Linked DNA regions of Homo sapiens: all the other regions are linked to region 1. Evidence: promoter capture Hi-C in human tissues and cell types (Jung and others, 2019). All regions are on one chromosome and are shown on one strand. Each heading gives the region's core, a stretch centred on a gene start or on the middle of the fragment in contact. The rest is flanking DNA. Distances are from core to core; before and after follow the strand shown. Region 1 holds the start of PTX4 (pentraxin 4). Region 2 holds the start of TPSD1 (tryptase delta 1). Region 3 overlaps CRAMP1 (cramped chromatin regulator 1).

What was found. The method cuts DNA at HindIII sites, captures the fragments that hold promoters and counts their contacts. A contact is called where the count stands out against the background at its distance.
Region 2: the fragment with the promoter of TPSD1 here is called in contact with the fragment with the promoter of PTX4 in region 1 in 1 of the 25 tissues and cell types used here (spleen).
Region 3: a contact is called between a fragment that was not itself captured here and the fragment with the promoter of PTX4 in region 1, in 3 of the 25 tissues and cell types used here (dorsolateral prefrontal cortex, mesenchymal stem cells and spleen).

What each region holds. Positions count from the first base shown.
Region 1 is chr16:1,486,900-1,490,545 of GRCh38, forward strand. PTX4 (pentraxin 4) reads right to left here and starts at 2,045. Exons shown (of 3, transcript NM_001328608.2): 1 at 1,870-2,045; 2 at 417-1,071. The coding sequence starts at 2,010. The HindIII fragment of the contact is 5,905 bases long and covers 1,414-3,646 here.
Region 2 is chr16:1,254,349-1,257,994 of GRCh38, forward strand. TPSD1 (tryptase delta 1) reads left to right here and starts at 1,721. Exons shown (of 5, transcript NM_012217.3): 1 at 1,721-2,014; 2 at 2,168-2,339; 3 at 2,449-2,714. The coding sequence starts at 1,933. The HindIII fragment of the contact is 12,300 bases long and covers 1-3,646 here.
Region 3 is chr16:1,638,417-1,642,062 of GRCh38, forward strand. CRAMP1 (cramped chromatin regulator 1) reads left to right here. Exons shown (of 21, transcript NM_020825.4): 6 at 2,723-2,771. Among named protein-coding and RNA genes, the nearest start is that of CRAMP1, 28 kb to the left of the region's middle. The HindIII fragment of the contact is 5,606 bases long and covers 1-3,646 here.

The sequences.
Region 1 (3,646 bases), core at 795-3,294:
CTCACAACAGCGCAGGTTTAGTGTTTCACATTTCTGGCGGTCACAAGGCCAACACGGTCTCCCAGGGCTCAAATCAGGTGTGGACAGGGCTGGTTCCTCTGGAGGCTCCAGGAGAAACCATCTCCCGCCCTTTCCAGCTTCCAGAGGCGCCTGCACCCTTCGGCGTGGGGCCTCCTCGTCTGTGCATCCCGCCACCTCTGCTTCTGCCCTCACGCCCTCCTCTGACTGTGTTCCTCCTGCCTCCCCTTAGAAAGCCTCTGTGATGACGGTGGGCCACCCCCCCCGATGATCCGAGACCCTCTCCCCATCTCCCGGCCCCTAACTGAACCTCTTTTGAGAAGCCTTTTCCAGGGGGCCTGGTCTAAGGAGGAGCTGGAGGGAAGCCTGGCCGTGAGCTGGGAGCCTGTGGTACTTACTCTCTCCTGGCACCTGGGGGGACCATGCCTGCTGCCGAGGGTCTTTTGGGGCAGTCCCACTGAGTACCCGATGGCTGCCTGAGGCTGGAGGCTCCCGCCTCCCTTGGAGAGGGGCCGAGGAGTCCTGTGGGGGGCCCCTGTGCTCAGAGGCAGCTCGGAGCTCCTGCCTGTCCCTCTGAAGCTTCAGGGAGGTCGGGCCCAGCTCCTCAGGCTGGGTTGGGGTTGGGACCAGGGCCGGCCCGAGGGCTGCAGTGCCAGGGTGGGCCACGGGCAGCCGCCCCTCCAGAGCAGCCAGCCTGGCGCCCTGGCTGTGGACGAGGCCCTCCAGGCGTGCCAGTGAGTCCTGCAGGGCGTCCCTCTGGGCCTTGTGTGCCTTCCTTTCCCGGGCCCGCTGCTGGCTCCTCTCGCCCAGGGTGAGGTCCAAGGCCCGCAGCCGCGTGTCTACTTTCCGGCCTCGGCGCTGCAGCTTCCTCACCCAGGCCTTGAGCTGCGCCAGCTCCCCCTGCACCGAGGCCTGTGACCGGTTGACTGCCTGAGCCACAGCCTGGCTCTCTTCCGCCAGGCTCCGGAACCGGACGTCAACGTTGTAGGACACGTTGTAGTTGCTGGCGATGTTCTGCAGGTGTGTCCAGGTCACCTCCTGGAATCTCCGGAACTGTAAGGAGGACACGGTGATGATGGGGCGGGCCGGGCCGGGCCGGCTGGGCGGGACGGGAAAGGCTTTGCCCTCTCAAGTTGGGAGCAGCGGCCGCGTGCCCGGGCCACGGCCAGCACTGGCTATCTGCCCACCGATTTGATCCCCACTGCGATGCCGTGAGATGTGGTGGGTGCCAGGGACTGACCCCAGGCCATGCAGCTGCACCACGTGGGGTGTGGACTCCAGGCCCACAGCTGGGGCTCTGATCCCCACCGCTCACCCCATAACCACCGGCAAGTCACTTTCCCTCGTGATTCCAGCTCCTGCCTGTGAGCAGGGGACGGCAGGGTGGCCTCATGAGTGCTTTACGAGGCCCAAACAGGAAGCACCCAGCGCAGGCCCGACAGGCCCACAGCACTCCGGAACTGTCCGTGGACCCCGCGTGGGAGTCCGGGAGGCCGTTCACACCGACTGCCACAAGGTGGACCTGTGACCTCCCAGTTTCCACTCCCCATGACACTACCCGGCCCCCATGGCCCCCAGTTCCCCTGACTCCCTTCCAGACCCCCTTCTAGCCTCTGGCCCCACCTGACCCCCACATGTTATGAGGCTTGTGTCCTGTGTGAGTGGAGCCCAGCTCAGCTCTTCCCTGGTGTCCAACTGCAGGTGAAATAATCTTCATGGATGGAAAGAGCGTCACACGCGGTGTTCGTGTCCGCCAAGCCCTGATGTTTACCAATCTGCTTCTGTAACATCCGTCTTCCATCTGCTGCCAATTTAAAAACCCGACTGCGCCATGTCAGGGGTATAACTTGCCTGTTCCTCCAGCCTACGGAGCCTCTCGAAAAACGGTTTCCTGGGCCCCACTGGGGCGGCTTCCTGCGATGAAGCCCCATGTAGATATATAGGCACAAAAACAAGGAAGAAAGACAAGGTCTTCCTCCACGAGCAACCCATCCGGAGAGACGGCAAGGCCCCAGCAGTCTCCCTCCAGCCGCAGGAGAGGGTGAAGGTGGCTCCGTGGGTCTGTCTTGTGTCTCGTCCCCCCAGCTCTCCTGTTGAGTGGTTTTCCTTCTTTGGCCCTGGCTGGATGTCAGGTTCTTCCTGCCGCCTCCATGAAAGGCATCTGCCTTCAAGCCAGTGGGCTCTGAGACTTGCAGGTTCCTAAGGAGACAAGCTTAAAACAGATGCAAACAGTTTCTTTGAAGAATCATTCAGCTGGGTGCAAGCCCGCGGGCAGGAGGCGATGGCTTTAACAGGAGCACATGGACTTGTGCTCCCGAGAAGTCGAAGCAAGACAGGGAACCCGACGGGGGCTGGGGAGTCAACAGAGCCAGGTCTGCACAGGCACCCATCACCCAGGCCGTGCACGGCTGCATCCTGGGAGGCCCCGTCTCTCTCAGTAAAGCAATGGAAATGTGACTGGGAGCCACCTTAATTAATTAATTATTATTATTATTTGAGATGGAGTCTCGTTCTGTTGCCTAGGCTAGAGTGCAATGGCGCAATCTCAGCTCACTGCAACCTCTGCCTCCCCGGCTCAAGCGATTCTCCTTCCTCAGCCTCCTGCCTCCTGAGGAGCTGGGATTACAGGCGTGCTTTACCATGCCCGGCTAATTTTAGTATTTTTAGTAGAGATGGGGTTTCACTATGTTGGTCAGGCTGGTCTCAAACTTCTGACCTCATGATTTGCCTGCCTCAGCCTCCCTAAGTGTTCGGATTACAGGCATGAGCCACTGCGCCTGGCCAATTAATTAATTTTTTTGACGGAGTCTTGCTCTGTCACCCAGGCTGGAGTGCAGTGGTGCGATCTCCGCTCACCACAAGCTCCGCCTCCTGGGTTTAACGGATTCTCCTGTCTCAGCCTCCCAAGTAGCTGGGATTACAGGTATGTGCCCCCACATCCGGCTAATTTTTGTATTTTTAGTAGAGACGGGGTTTCACCATGTGGGCCAGGCTGGTCTCAAACTCCCGACCTCAGGTGATCCACCCGCTGTAGCCTCCCGAAATGCTGGGATTACAGGCATGAGCCACCGCGCCCGGCCAATTTTTGTATTTGTAGTAGAGACGGGGTTGCCCCATGTGGGCCAGGCTGGTATTTTTGGTTACAGGTTGTGTACTGGCTTGAATGAGACCCTCCTAAAAACACACATAAGCCCCAGGCAGGGCCTTATGTGGAAAAGGTCTCTGCGGATGTCATGAAGGATTTTGAGATGAGACCATCCTGGATTATCCAGGTGGCCCTAAAGCCAATGACAGGGGTACAAGAGACAGAGGAGGAGGCACAGAGGACACGGCCTGTGAAGATGGGGCAGAGACTGGGGTGACGCTGCCACGAGGAACCCCCAGAGGCCCCAGAAGCTGGAAGAGGTAAAGTGGGAACCCCCAGCCCAGAGCCTTCGAGGGAGTGTGCACCTTCACTTCAAGACTTCCAGCCCCCAGAACTGTGATAGGACTCATTTCTGTTGTTTCAAGCCGCCCAGCTCATGGGAATAAGATCATCCACAAAGTTGTCCCACTGGGGGCATCCATCATTCCCAAGGTGGCATGAGCCAAGAGGGTGCCAGGCCAGGAAACCATCGGTGGCCCCCAG
Region 2 (3,646 bases), core at 471-2,970, 230 kb before region 1:
GTCTCTTCTTCACCGTCAGCCCTGGTGTCTCCCGTGTCCCTGCCACACCCTCATCCCTGGTGTCCCCCGTCACCCCATCCCCTCACCTCCTGGGCTCCTGAAGGTCCCATCTTGTGGGCCTCATTCATGGAACCAGGACGGGGCAGGTGGAGGCCTCTGGGGAGTTTGTCCAGAGAATGGAGGAGAAGCAGGGTCATGAGCAGGAGCGGTCTGGGCCACCCCTGCCTGTCCCCCGGGGGGTGCAGCCCGGAAGGAGTCCAGATGGATATGGCCCCGCAGTGCAGAGTCAGCCTCAAACCAGGCTGGTCCCAGGCAGGGTGGGGGCAGGAGGAGCCCCGGAGTGGCCCTGTGTTGGGGGTCGGGGGGCAGGCAGGGGGTCCTGGGGCTCAGAAGCAGAGGAGGTGGGCTGGAGGCCCCAGTGACCAACAGGCCCAGGTGAGTCAGGAGGTGGGGTGGACGGAGCTGCAGGGACAGTGTCAGCGCTGAATGGGATGGAGAGCACAGGGAGCTGGGGCCGGGGGTGAGACCAAGGGGAGCTGGGCTGGGGCTGGGGGTGAGTCCATGGGGAGCTGGGGCCGGGGGCTGGGACTAGTCCATGGGGAGCTGGGCTGGGGCTGGGGGTGAGACCATGGGGAGCTGGGCTGGGGCTGGGACTAGTCCATGGGGAGCTGGGCTGGGGCTGGGACTAGTTCATGGGGAGCTGGGCTGGGGCTGGGGGTGAGTCCATGGGGAGCTGGGCTGGGGCTGGGGGTGAGTCCATGGGGAGCTGGACTGGGGCTGTGGGTGAGTCCATGGGGAGCTGGGGCTGGGGCTGGGACTACTCCATGGGGAGCTGGGGCTGGGGCTGGGACTAGTCCATGGGGAGCTGGGCTGGGGCTGTGGGTGAGTCCATGGGGAGCTGGGCTGGGGCTGGGGGTGAGTCCATGGGGAGCTGGGCTGGGTCTCCTGGGGTTGCACCTGCACTCCTGTCTGCCCTTCCCTCTGCGGATGAAGCTCAGATCCCATGATAAGAAGGCACCTGCAGACCAGGGGACCTGCACGGACAGCCCCAGAGGTGGACATTGAGGAATCGTTGGAGGACTTGGGTCTCATACGGGAGGTGGGGAGCAGGGCCCCTTCCTGGCTGAGGACACTTGGTGCTGTCCCCTCTCAAGGCTGTTTCCCCATCTGACAAAGGGGTCTCATGTGAGCCCCCAACCAAGTGAGTCGAGGAGGGCTGGCCCCACCCCCGTGGATTCGGAGTCCGTAGGAGGGGTGTCACCCGTCATGTCCCCACCCCGTGGGCACCTTCCCGTCTCTTGGAGGGTGGCCCATGGACATGAGTTCCTCACCCCGTGTCCCTCTTGGGGAAACAGGTTTCAGGAGCGACGGGTCTTGTAGCCTGGGGCAGCCAGGCCACCTGGGTGCAGCTATGCCTGAAGGCCTCCTGGCACCGAGACAGGGGCAGGAGCAGATCCCACCAGCGGGAAGGTGGTGGGTTCCAGTGCTGGGATCCACCAGCTGACAGGTGGAGCTGCGAGCCTCCAGTGCTCAGCCCTCGGCGGGGCCTGCCTGGCAGCCCCACACACAGAGGGCATCGGGGTGGCGGGGGCATGTGTTACACGGGGGCCCTGGGTCTGAGTCATCCACTTCCTCCGAGTCTGGATGGGAGGACCCAGCGCCCCTCCTCCGCCCCCTCCTGATCTGGAAGCATAAATGGGGAGGGGAGAGCCCGCTGGGTAGAAGGAACAGGGAGTGGCCAGGGTAAGTCCCTACTCTCAGAGACCCTGACATCAGCGTCACCTGGAGCAGAGTGGCCCAGCCTCAGACTCAGAGCACCAAGACCCAGGCCCGCAGGCCTGGACCCACCCCGGTCCCCCCGTCCCAGCTCCATTCTTCACCCCACAATCTGTAGCCCCCAGCCCTGCCCTGTGAGGCCCGGCCAGGCCCACGATGCTCCTCCTTGCTCCCCAGATGCTGAGCCTGCTGCTGCTGGCGCTGCCCGTCCTGGCGAGCCCGGCCTACGTGGCCCCTGGTGAGTCCCAGCCGGGGTCCACCCTGCCCCTCACCACATTCCACAGATCAGGGCCTGGGTGGGTTCTGGGGAGGCCGGGCTGGCCCCCACACAGGGAAGGGCTGGTCCCAGGCGTGGGGCGGCTTCTTGGTCCTGACCTGGCACCTGCCCCAGCCCCAGGCCAGGCCCTGCAGCAAACGGGCATTGTTGGGGGGCAGGAGGCCCCCAGGAGCAAGTGGCCCTGGCAGGTGAGCCTGAGAGTCCGCGGCCCATACTGGATGCACTTCTGCGGGGGCTCCCTCATCCACCCCCAGTGGGTGCTAACCGCGGCGCACTGCGTGGAACCGTGAGTCTCCTGGGGCCTGGAGGGGTGGGCAAGGGCTGGATGTGAGCCCTGGCTCCCGGGTGCTCCTGGGGGCTGCCCAGGGCCCTGAGTGGGATCCTCCGCTGCCCAGGGACATCAAGGATCTGGCCGCCCTCAGGGTGCAACTGCGGGAGCAGCACCTCTACTACCAGGACCAGCTGCTGCCGGTCAGCAGGATCATCGTGCACCCACAGTTCTACATCATCCAGACCGGGGCGGACATCGCCCTGCTGGAGCTGGAGGAGCCCGTGAACATCTCCAGCCACATCCACACGGTCACGCTGCCCCCTGCCTCGGAGACCTTCCCCCCGGGGATGCCGTGCTGGGTCACTGGCTGGGGCGACGTGGACAATAATGGTGGGTGTTGGGGACAGCGGGAGGCCGGGCCAGGTGGGCACCAAGTCACAGCCACAGGCCAGTCCGTGGGGTGACAGGGTCCCTCAGGGCGGCTCAGGGAGGGGGACTGTGGAGGCCAGGATGGATGGAGCAGGCGGTGGCGAGAGGCAGCAGGTGCCCTGAGCAGAGACGGTGAGTCCAAAGGGCCTGGGCGTCCCCCACCCCAGGGGTTTGGAGAGTCCCTTAGCACCTCCGTGCCTCGGTTTCCCCTTGCCTGAAAGGGTGCATCAAAAGTTTGTACGTCACGGACTTGCTATGTGGAGAGAGAAATCACACGGGGGTCTTGCTGGAAGGAGAGAGACCGGTGCTGGGATGAGACCTGCCTGCCCTCCATCCCTGTGCTACAGACAAGGCAGGGGCCTGGGAATCGGGGTCGTGGCAGTGCTGTGGGGGGCTGGACGAAGCTCACTGTGGCCCTCCACGAGGCACATTTTCACTTCTAGAAGGTCTTGTCCCCATTTTATCCACAATTCAGAGCAAAGCTTTGGGGTACAGCCTGAGCGGCAACCCTGGGCTGTGACCTCTGGGTCACTCAGAAGGGGCCTGAGCCACTGTCCCGCTATTCCGCCCCACACAGCGGGGAAGCTGAGCCCAGCGCCCTGTGTTCCCCTCGGCTAGGGCCAACCGTGGACCATGGGCCTAGCCCAGACGAAAGTCAGCTGAGCCCAGGGGGAGACACGGGTCGGGCTCTGCACCCCCGTGCCATGGAGCCCAGCTTGGCAACCTCCAGGGCCCTCCCCTCCCTTCCCCAGATGGGGCTTAAATGAGGCCAGGGACCCAGGACCAGCCTCAGCGGAGGGGCCTGGACTGCATTCACCGCCCCTTCCCCGGGGCTGCAGGCACAGAACAGCACTGGGCCCATGGTGCCATCTCCCCTGCCCGTGACTCTGCCA
Region 3 (3,646 bases), core at 763-3,262, 150 kb after region 1:
GACTTAGAGCGGCCGCACTGCCTGGGCTTCTGAGACATTGCAACGCGCTCAGGCCTTCCTCACGCAGGCCCTTGCTTGGATTTGTTCCGATCGTCTCCTCGGGACCAGATTCCCTTGAGACATTTTTGACACGACCTCTAGGTAGGGACATTGTAGACTTACCAGGCGCTTGTGCCCAGCGCCCCTCAGCCCTGCTTCTTCTGCCTGACTTCATAAGAAGAGAGCATGCCTGGGCTGTCCAGTGGGCACTGTAGGGGATCCCCCCCTCTTCAGTGGGATACTGCACGACCACGCCAGCTAGCATGTCACAGCTCAGGGCGGGTGGTGGGGCTGAGAGGACAGATACGGAGCAGTCGCCCTGTCTGTGCCAGGCCTGCACCACACTCTGTCCCCTTGCTGCCCCTCCATGCCTTGCTGTGTCCTGCGGGGTGGCTGCTGCAATCTAGTGTGGCATTTGTGTGTGGGAGGCCCTGCCCTCCTGCACTTCCCCACTGGGTCTGTCCCCTGTGGGCCCAGCCACTCCTCTTACCTCCTCCAGCCTGCCTCTCCAGCCCGCACTCATGTCCGTGGGCCTCGTGTCCCAGCTCTTCATGCCTGTTCCTGCCGCCTCTCATCTGCCCTCTCTCAGCCTTGGGAAGCATCCCAGGCCCCAAGGAGTTTACGCCACAGCTCTCCCAGCTCTCATCTTCCCCAGATAAAGGAAAACCCCATCTTGACCATGTGTTCCCACTCCTTGTTGCCTGGTCCTTTTGCACCACTGCTTGTTCTGGTTTCCTCCCTAGAAGCTTCTGAGAGGTGGAGGGTGTCCAGGTTCTTGGCATTTCGAACAAAGAATTGTACAAAATGCACAAACAAAGCAAGGGAAGAATGAAGCAACAAAAGCAGAGATTTATTGAAAACCAAAGTACACTCCACAGGGTGGGAGTGGGCCCGGACGTAGGGGCTCAAGAGCCCTTTTACAGAAGTTTCCCCCTCTAGAGGGGGAAACCTCTAGAGGTTTCCCATTGGCTGCTTGGTGTACACCCTATGTAAATGAAGTAGTGGCCAGCAATCAGAGACTGAAGTGAGGTTACAAAGGTTACACTCTATGCAAGCATCTGATTGGTTGTGGAAAACAACCAATCAGAAGCTAAACTGGTTACAAAGTTACACTTCTTTGCAAAGGAAGACTTGGCCCCAGTCTTGGGGAAGACTTTTTAGACTTTTTCAAACCTAGCAGAAGCAACCAGTCAGGCTGAAGTGAAGTTCCAAAGTTGTACTCCTATGTAAATGTCCGATTGCTTTCTGCTTTCTGCAACCAATCAGAGATACTTTCAATTTCCCATCTGCCATGAAGAAAGAAGGGGAGGGGGCGTTGCAAAGGGAATAGCGTGTCTGGTCCGTTTGTTACTTAGGTGTGGAAAGTTGGGGTTTTCCTTTTGATTTAGTTCTAGGAAGTCAGCGTGAATTGGCCTTAGGTTCCCTACCTCTAGACCCTATTCTCCTGCCTCATGAGGATGCTCAAGTTTGATGAAAATAAATGACTTGATTGCTGAGTGAGGGGCACACTGCTCCCAGGCTTCCAACCCTTCATCCGGGAGCAGGAGAGGTGGGGCACGGTGACCCTGTGGCATGCCATGCCTGGCCGGTTTCCGCAACCGGTTCCTTTCTTGGTGCCTCGCCTGGCGACAAGAGCCCTTTCCGGTGCTTTTCATTCCTTCCTGAAGTTCCGTTTCCATCTGGCTTTGTTTCCTTTCTTTCTGAAAAACCTCCTGTATTTTTTTCCGTGCAGTTGTGCCGGCTGTGAATTCTTAGTTATTATTAATCTGAAAATTCTTTATTTCATCTTCATTCTTAAAAGATGTATTTGCCGGATAGAGAATTCTGATCTGACGGGTTCATTCTTTCATCACATTGACACCGTTGTCTGCTGCCTCTTGGCCTGTGCTGCTCTGATGAGAGGGGTCAGTGGTCATCTATGCCCTCATTCCTCCGTGCGAGGTGCATTGTCTGTCTGTGGCTGCTTTGACAATTTTGTCTTTGGTTTTGGTTTTCAGCCTGGTCGTTCGTTTGTGGAGTTTTTTTCCCTAAAACATGCAGAAGAATTCAAAGAATTTTACAGTGAACAGCCAAGTACCCAGCACCTAGTCTCTCCCGTTAACGTACTGTAGCTGCTTTCTTGCACATCTTGAAGATAGTGAAGAGTCCCGAGCAGGTCACAGGAAATGGGGCGTCTGCTCCAGGAAACTCAGAGGGTGTCGGAGTCTTCATTCTGTGGACCCTGGGTGCCTTGGGGGTTCCACACTGTGGGCCGGAAGGTCAACACCGGACACTGTCAGTACGAGCCCAGCAGGAAGTGTGCGTGGGCAGGTGTGGTGCCTGCAGGAAGCAGCTGTTGAGCCAGGCAGATAGGGATGAGTGGAAGGCCGGCGCTGGGGGACCTAGGAGGGAGCTCTTGGGAGGACAGATCAACTGGTCAGAGGCTGGGTAGTGGGCCTGCCTGAGGAGGGGGCCAGGCAGGGGCGTGCCAGGCTTTCAGGTGAGCGGGGGCGACCAGGGCAGCTGACTCGAAGGTGTGACTTTGAGGGAGGGGCTGCAGCTACTGTAGGGCTTTTATTCCAGAGGAACTTTAATATTCGGTAATGGGATTTGAGTCTATATTGAGCGGAATTGTATGGGAATCTTCAGTGGCTTTGCTCCTAACTACATTGTGGTCTCATTTATTTATTTTTTCCATTTAAAGGTATGGATGACAAGAATGCAACAAAGCTGAATGAACTCATTCAGGTTGGGTAAGTCCCAGTTTCCATGTGAAACATCACTTCTCTGGGTGTTTTGTGTTTATTCTCTAAAATACAGAAGCTGAAATGCTCTCAGTGAGGACCTTCCGAGTTAAAACTTCATAACCTCTCAGTTACGTGTTCAGTCCCAACAAAAGGTGCTTGGTCCAGGGAGCAGTGACTGCGCCCAGAGCCTGTGCCTGCCCCGGGGAGGGAAGGAAGTGCCGTCTTTGGCCTCCTCCTTCCCGAGGGTCTCTGGCTGGGCGTTGTGGTCTCGACGCAGCACTCAGGGCCCTGCTTTTTGTGCTCCTTTTCCTCCACCTTTGTGCCTGCTGTGGGGCTGGTCCCCGGCTTCTAGGGCCTCTCCTTTCCATTGCATTTTTGTCGTGTCCTGGGCCACTTCTGACAGCTTCCCTGCCTTCTTGTGCCCTGGATGCTTCTGTCTCCAACTGGCCGCTCTCCTCCCCTCACACACCTGACTCCCAGAGGGCACATGCTCTCCTGGCCACACAAACAACCGGGCCCCTGATGGTCCAGTTGACATCTGCCCAGTTGCTGCTGTTGGGCTGCACTTCAGGGCAGGGCCCCGCCACCCTACTCCACAGCCTGGGGGTTCCCTGCTTTACAGCTTGGGGAAGGTCCCCACGCCACAGCCTGGGGGGGTTCCCCACTCCGCAGCCTGGGGGTCTCCACTCCGCAGCCTGGGGGGTCCCCACTCTGGAGCCTGGGGGGGGGTCCCCGTTCCACAGCCTGGGGGTTCCCAGTGCACAGCCTGGTGGGGTTCTGTGCATGTACATTTCTCACCTGGTGTGGGTCCTCATGGGTAGCCATCCCATCTTACATCCATCCCGCCCACTGACCACACCAGAGCTATCCCGGCAGCCTGG